2 separate regions of the Homo sapiens genome follow, and region 1 is linked to region 2. The links are contacts of gene promoters, found by promoter capture Hi-C in human tissues and cell types (Jung and others, 2019). All regions are on one chromosome and are shown on one strand. The core of a region is centred on a gene start or on the middle of the fragment in contact, and the rest is flanking DNA. Distances in the headings are between cores, read along the strand shown.

Region 1 (3,852 bases), core at 820-3,319, 130 kb after region 2:
CTATTGGCTGGAACTCAGACAGTCACCACATTTAACAGTAAGGAAGTCTGGGAAATGTGATCTAGTCATGGGTTTTGGTGACTGCATAGTAGTTTCTGCTACATGCTGGAATTGATCTTCTAGCTAACATGGGGACAGATGGCTGGTCCTTGGGAAAACTTTTTATTTTTTTGGAGAGAGGGTGTCTCACTGTGTTACCCAGGCTGGTCTTGAACTCCCAGCCTCAAGTGATTTTCCTGCCTTAGCCTCCCAAAGTGCTGGGACTACAAGTGTGTGCCATTCTGCCCAGCTAAAAGCTCTTTAATGTTCAATCTCTAGGGGCATAGAGAGTGAGCAGTGGGGGCTAAGATAGTTCCTTACAAGCCCCCACAACATAGCTGGGTGTTGTTTCTACCCATATGGTTCCAGCAACTGGCTTTCTAACTCTCTCAGCAATTATGTGAATTGTCTAATATCCTTGACCAAGTTCCTACTCTGTTAAGTCTGTGTGGCTTTCATGGGCTGCAGCTAAGAAATCCGGGGTCATTTTATTTATTTTTGTCTGTTTTTGTTTTGGTCAATTGTATCTATCTTTGAGATTGGGCCTCAGGGACAATATCTCTACTGAAATAAGTAATGGTGTTTACTTCTGTCTGTGTAATAGCCCATAGAACAAGCCTAAGCTCACATGTGTACAAAAGCATATCTACAGCAAATCCATTCTGCAAGTTTCAGGCCCATGAGAACAAGGTATTTCTATGCAGTTTCTATGCAGTTGAGGCAGGACAGTCTCATCTAATCTTTGACCAAAGAGTAGTTTATTTGAAATCCCATTATTGCCACCAGTGATAAAGGTGTGGTGTCAAGAATGCAATCCCAACTCTAGGAGGGGAGTTGTCACCTATGTTTCCCTCCCTGTAGGGAGGCCTTCAGGCTGGGCAGCAGGTTGTGACATATAGCTGGGAATCCAACTGTGTGCATTTGGATATTGACCAGAGAGAGAATCAAGACTGACTTAGAGATCATGATTGACAATTTATAGATTCCTGGGCTCAGGGAGTGATATGGTTTGGCTGTGTCCCCACCCAAATCTCATCTAGAATTGTAATAATCCCCACATGTCAAGGCTGGGGCCTGGTGGAGATAACTGAATCATGGGGGTGGTTTCCCCCATACTGTTCTTGTGGTAGTGAATAAATCTCACGAGATCTGTTGGTTTTATAAAGGGGAGTTCCCCGCACAAGCTCTCTTGCCTGCTGCTGTGTAAGATGTGACTGCTCCTCCCTTGCTAGCTGCCATAATTGTGAGGCCTCTCCTGCCATGTGGAACTGTGAGTCCCTTAAATCTCTTTCCCTTATAAATTACCCAGTTTCAGGTATGTCTTTATTAGCAGTGTGAGAACAGACTAGTACAGGGAAGGGCAAGTGTTGAAAGTTTCAGAGTGGAGTACAAGTTCCCTGATCACTGAGGCTCTTCAAAATCAGCCACTTTTCAGTTCATACTAGATTGAAACCATATCTGAGGGTAACCCATTTAATAATGACATTATTTCACCCTTTCAGCTTCGGCAAGTCACTTAAATTTGTTGAATCTCAACTTCATCATATGTAAAAGTAAAGAGTATCTTCCAGTCCCCACTTCTGGGATCTCATTTCTCTAGCAGACTGCACTGATTCTCATTATTCTTTGTTGCTTTCAGCATTCTCCACCAGATGGCTCCAGTCTCTCAGTGTAAACCCACGCCCACAGCTTCCTTTGGAGCCCGGCTTGCTTTTGTGGATTCCTCCCCTCTGCACACTCAACTTCTACTCTTCTCCAAGTTTTTAAACAAAACACTTCATATGTTTGAAAGCATTTTCTTCCTCCTGTCTTCCATAGCACATTACTCTCCTCATTTCAACCATAGATCAACCATTTATTTTAATTCATTTTTGATGACACAAAGCTAGTCTGTACCACAACCCCTATTGTGGACTGTGGCCAGGGGTCACACTCCAATGCGGGCCCATTGGTGCAGTTAAAAATGGGACAGGAAATTCCTGTGAAAGTCAATGAACTGAGATTCTGGGCTCTTTTGTCTTGGTAGGTTCCTTACTCTATTTGACCTGCTGAAGCCATTAAATTTTTGGGGGCTGTAAAGAATTTTAGGAAGGCAACTGGGATGAGTCTACTCATCCATATTTTTCTTTTTGTTTTTTTTTAAGAGCTGGGGGGTCTTGCTGTATTGCCCAGGCTGATCTCAAACGCCTGGCCTGTCGAGACCAGCTAGGTTGTGGAGACCCTAACCCAGTGGCACTAGAGGAATTAAAGATACACACACAGAAATATAGAGTGTGGAGTGGGAAATCAGGGGACTCACAGCCTTCAGAGCTGAGAGCCCTGAACAGAGTTTGACCCACATATTTATTGACAGCAAGCCAGTGATAAGCATTATTGCTATAGATTACAGATTAACTAAAAGTATTCCTTATGGGAAACAAAGGGATGGGCCGAAACAAAGGGATGGGCTCTGGCTAGTTATCTGCAGCAGGAACATGTCCTTAAGGCACAGATTGCTCATGCTATTGTTTGTGGCTTAGGAACGCCTTTAAGCAGTTTTCCTCCCTGGGTGGGCCAGGTGTTCCTTGCCTGGTAAGGTAAGGAACACACAACCCAGTAAACCCACAACCTTCAGTAAGGGTGTCATGGCTATCATGAACATGTCACAGTGCTGCAGAGATTTTGTTTATGGCCAGTTTTGGGGCCAGTTTATGGCCAGATTTGGGGGCCTGTTCCCAACACTGGCCTCAAGTGATCCTCCTGCCTTGGCCTCCCCAAAGCACTGGGATTACAGGCTTACAGACATGAGCTGCCACACCCTGCTGTGTATATTATTTTCTTTTTCTTTTTTGAAACAGTCTCACTCTCACCCAGGCTGGAGTGCAGTGGCATGATCTCGGCTCATTGCAACCTCCACCTCCTGGGTTGGGGAAATTTTCCTCCCTTAGCCTCCTGAGTAGCTGGGATTACAAGTGTGAGCCACCATGCCTGGCTAATTTTTGTAATTTTAGTAGAGATGGGGTTTCGCCATGTTGGCCAGCCTGGTCTTGAACTCCTGGCCTCAAGCAATCCTCCTGCCTCAGCCTCCCAAAGTGCTGGGATCACAGGCATGAGTCACCATGCCAAGCCTGTGTATATTATTTTCATTGCTCATTTGCTAGTTGGGTAGCAAACAAAAGTGAAAGCAACCTTAAGCCAAGTCTGAATGATCAGTCTGAAAATTATTGAATTCAGATCAGCTTTGTGATCTTGTCCAGCTCAGTCCCTTATCAACTGTATTCCTGCAAAATAATATTGACATCATAGAGATATTTGTATATATATGTGTGTATAATGGGTAATTGAAACATTAACCTGAGTTTTCTTCTTGTAGACTCAGCTAGAAAGAACCAAGGACGCTTTTCCATTTTCCATCTCTGAGATATGCTGCTTTTGAAGATCTAGGGCCATTCAGCATGGGGTTTGTTGGCAAAATAATGTTTGATAGTATAAGAAAAGGAGGAGGTTTCAGTCTTGGCATATTAAGTTACTCATTCAACAGATACTTGTCCCTAGCTTGTGCCAGGCACTTTTCTAGGCATTGGATATATATCAGCAAATAGGATTGGAAAGGATCCAGCTCTCACAGAATTTGTGTTCTTCTGAAGAACACAGTAAACCAACACATAGTCCACAAATCAGATTGCTTCAGCTAGTGATCAGTATTGTGAAGAAAATACGACAGGGCTGTGAGACATAGAATGCCAGGAGGTGTTATCTAAGCCGAGGGCTGCAAGGGCCGGGGAGTTAGTGGCTATATCGCCCAGGACTAGGAGGAGTGTGTGTTTCGTAAAC
Region 2 (3,983 bases), core at 1,233-3,732:
TACGCTTTATTTCTGTGTGTGTGTCTTTAATTCCTCTAGTGCTGCTGGGTTAGGGTCTCCATGACCAAACTACTCTCGGCATTCCCATTAACTGTTTTATTGTTGCCTAAGACTTTGTGCCTTCTGTGGCCTAGAATAAGCCACCCATCTGCTTGCAAACATCCTTTCACAGAGAGCCAACTTAAGCAGTTCCACTCTTCCAAAATCCTTTTTGATTCCCTATTTCTGCAGGTGATTGTTTCTTTCTTTATCCCCTACCATACACCTGTGCACCTACAGTTCATTAAGAAAGGTATTTATTTCCATTTCTGTCTCTCCAGTAGACTGAGAGCAACATGAGTGCAGGGACCATGTCTTACTCATCCCCATATTCCTAGTGCTTAGCAAAGAGTCTGTCATAAAGTGGTAGCCCAATAATGCTCATAATGTTAATTATTCAATCACTTTACCTTCAGCTACATTCAACCAGCCAGCTTTATATGCCATGCTTTTACATGCTTTATCTGATTTTCATAACAGTTCTGTTGAGATAGGCCTAATTATGTCTAGTTTTAAGGTGAAGCTTAGTCCCAGAGAGGTGATGTGACTTGCTCAAAGTTCCCCAATCAATAAGATTCTTTTGGATTTTCTTCTCTGTGCAGAGCAGTCTCTGATATGTTTGGGTCTATGTCCCCACCCAAATCTCATCCCCAGTTATAATCCCCATGTATTGAGGAAGGGAAGTGACTGGATTATGGGAACGGTTTCCCCATGCTGTTCTCGTGATCATTCTCACATGATAGTTCTCATGAGATCTGGTGGTTTTATAAATGGTGTTTTCTTCCTGCGCTCTTACTTCTCTTTCCTGTCACCTTGTAAAGAAGGTACTTGCTTCTCCTTTGCCTTCCACCATGACTGTAAGTTTCCAGAGGCCTCTCCAGCCATGCAGAACTGTGAGTCAATTAAACCTCTGTCCTTTATAAATTACCGGTCTCGGGTAGTTCTTTATAGCAGTGTGAAAACGGACGAATACAGTCTCTCACTAAAAGATGGTCCTTGCCCTGAAGATGCTCATGTCAGATTTTCCTGTCCTTTATTGACAACTTGCTCATGCAAGTGACTTTGGAGAGGGAAAACAACTGATCAGGGACAGCCCTGGAATGCCCTGGGCTCAGGAGATGGATCGCTACTAGCCAAGAGATGTCTTGCCTCTAGGAAGTCTCTTCTGTATTACTTGTCAAGAAAAGATTCTCTTGAAATGTTTCCCCTCTACACTTTGATATCCTCAAAACCTTTTTTTTTTTTTTCCAAGACGGAGTTTCACTCTTGTTGCCCAGGCTGGAGTGCAGCGGCATAATCTCAGCGCACTGCAACCTCTGCCCCCTGGGTTCAAGTGATTGTCCTGCCTCAGCCTCCTGAGTAGCTGGGATTACAGGTGTCCACCACCATGCCCAGCTAAATTTTTGCATTTTTCATAGAGACAGGGTTTCACATGTTGGCCAGGCTAGTCTTGAACTGCTGACCTCAGATGATCCACCCACCTCGCCTTCCCAAAGTGCTAGGATTACAGGCATGAGCCACCACAGCCAGCCTCCTCAAAATCTTTTAAACAAATATTTACTGGGTATATAGTATGTATTCAGCAGTGTTCTATGTGCTACGGATACAGTAATCAACAAAACAAAGTCTTTCCCTTGTAGAGCTCATGTTGTAAAGGGGGCAGGAAAATGAATTGAGAAATAGATACATAAGAGGTACTGATACGAAAAAAAGTAGCATAAGGAGGAGAGTTGTGGTGAGGAAGGGGAATCTTGGTTTTTGCCTTAAGAACCTGCCTCCAGCTGGGTGCAGTTCCTTATGCCTATAATCTCAGCACTTTGGGAGGCTGAGGCAGGAGGATCGCTTGACACCAGGAGTTTGAGATCAGCCTGGCCAACATGGCAAAACCCCATCTCTATAAAAAAAATATAAAAATTAGCTGGGCATGGTGGCACATGCCTATAGCCCCAGCTTCTCAGGAGGCTGAGGTGGGAGGATCACTTGAGCTGGGGAGATAGAGGTTGCAGTGAGCCAAGGTTGTGCCACTGCACTCCAGCCTGGGTGACAGAGCCAGACCCTATCTCAAAAAAAGAAAAAGAAAAGAACCTGCTTCCCTTCCTCCTGGTCACATTCTTGTTTCCCCTTTTCAGTCCACAGAGTTGTCTGTCCACAGTTGGGAAATGAGATTTTTCATTAACTTAGTGAAGAAAATACGACAGCATGATGACTGGAAAGGTAAATAGTATACTATGTCAATGAAACAAAACCACGCTTCCAAAAGCAATGTTTTTAGTGCATGTCATGATTAATGTTACACCAAAATGTGTTTTGGTTTCCATAGTGCAGTTCCTCAATCAGAAAGCCAGTTTTTATTCTGCTTATCTCCAGAGCTTTTGTTTGCCTTTTGCTCACCCTAGCCCCGCTAAACCAGATAAAAAGACCAGAGACAGCCTGGTTGAGATTACTCTTGGAGGAAGGCATCAGTTAAGGACACTGGAAAAGACAGGCTCTTTTGTTCTGGTTCCTAATGGAGTGGCTTTGGCTGTTCTTTCTCCATCCTATATCGTTTTACCAGGGGGCTGCATTTCCCTTTGCACTTCTCTTCAATTATCTCTGCATCATGGATTCATTCTCCACTCGTGCCAGGTAGGCTGGATGGCTATTTTTACTCTTACATCCAGAAATACTATAGTGACTGGGTGCGGTGGCTCACGCCCGTAATCCCTGCAATTTGGGAGGCTGAGGCGGGCAGATCACTTGAGGCCAGGGGTTTGAGAACTGCCTGGCCAACATAGCGAAACCCTGTCTCTAATGCAAATACAAAAAAAATTAGCTGGGCATGGTGGCTCATGCCTGTAGTTCCAGCTCCTCGGGAGGGAGGCAGGAGACCTGCTTAAGCCCAGGAGGTGGAGGTTGCAGTGAGCCGAGATGGCGCCATTGCACTCCAGCCTGGGCAACGGAGCAAGCCTCTATCTAAAAAAAAAAAAAATTCAGAAATACTATAGTAGGGCAAAAAGCAGAGTAGACTGCAGATGTGAAGATTACAATATATTAATTACACTTGTTTTTAACTTACTCTCACTGTCACTGATTATTGATATTTGATAATGAATATATATAACAGAGTAAAACTAAACTGGAAATTCACATCCTTCCTGCACTGATGTAAGGTTTGCTGGGTTCAGGTTAAATGGCAGATGAGTGAAAATAAACTCTCAGGAGAGATGGTTGTTGCGATGGTACAGGAATTCTCCAAATGGATACATCTCTGTCAACCATGGATCTCAGATATTCTTGAATAGTCCTAATTTTATGGAATTTTATCATTTTCAATCAAATTAAATTTTATATAAAGTTACATCAGTATAAGTTTTATTATAACTAAATGTGATTTTTAAAGTGCCTTTATATGAATTCTCAGAGAAATGAAATAAGTCAAAATGAATCTTGTTAGATTAGCTATATGATAATTTGAAGTTCAAAAATTATCACTAGAGATGTGATGACTTGATTGTAATGATTTTTTAAATATCAAATAACCTCAACACATTAGAGACAGCACCTATTTTTTTAGATTGCTCATATAAGATTTTATGTTTTTAACATAGTCAAAAGGCAAGAACTTAACTGAACATAGAACAGAAATGGTGAGTGTACTGTTAACATGGCTACATGATTTTCTGTTAAATTGAAAAGTCGCAAATACATTTTTTATTTTATTTATTTTTATATATATATATATATATATATATATATATATATTTTTTTTTTTTTTTTTTTTGAGACGGAGTCTCGCTCTGTCGCCCAGGCTGGAGTGCAGTGGCACGATCTCGGCTCACTGCAACCTCCACCTCCTGGATTCAAGGGATTCTCCTGCCTCAGCCTCCCCAGTACCTGGGACTATAGGTGCACACCACCATGCCCAGCTAATTTGAAATACATTTTTAAAAATAATTCCAATTTTT

The links. The method cuts DNA at HindIII sites, captures the fragments that hold promoters and counts their contacts. A contact is called where the count stands out against the background at its distance.
Region 1: a contact is called between a fragment that was not itself captured here and the fragment with the promoter of MBOAT4 in region 2, in 1 of the 25 tissues and cell types used here (spleen).

What each region holds. Positions count from the first base shown.
Region 1 is chr8:30,014,103-30,017,954 of GRCh38, reverse strand. No RefSeq gene overlaps it. Among named protein-coding and RNA genes, the nearest start is that of MIR3148, 59 kb to the right of the region's middle. The HindIII fragment of the contact is 9,883 bases long and covers 1-3,852 here.
Region 2 is chr8:30,143,164-30,147,146 of GRCh38, reverse strand. MBOAT4 (membrane bound ghrelin O-acyltransferase MBOAT4) reads left to right here and starts at 2,482. Exons shown (of 3, transcript NM_001100916.2): 1 at 2,482-2,664. The coding sequence starts at 2,546. The HindIII fragment of the contact is 8,892 bases long and covers 1-3,983 here.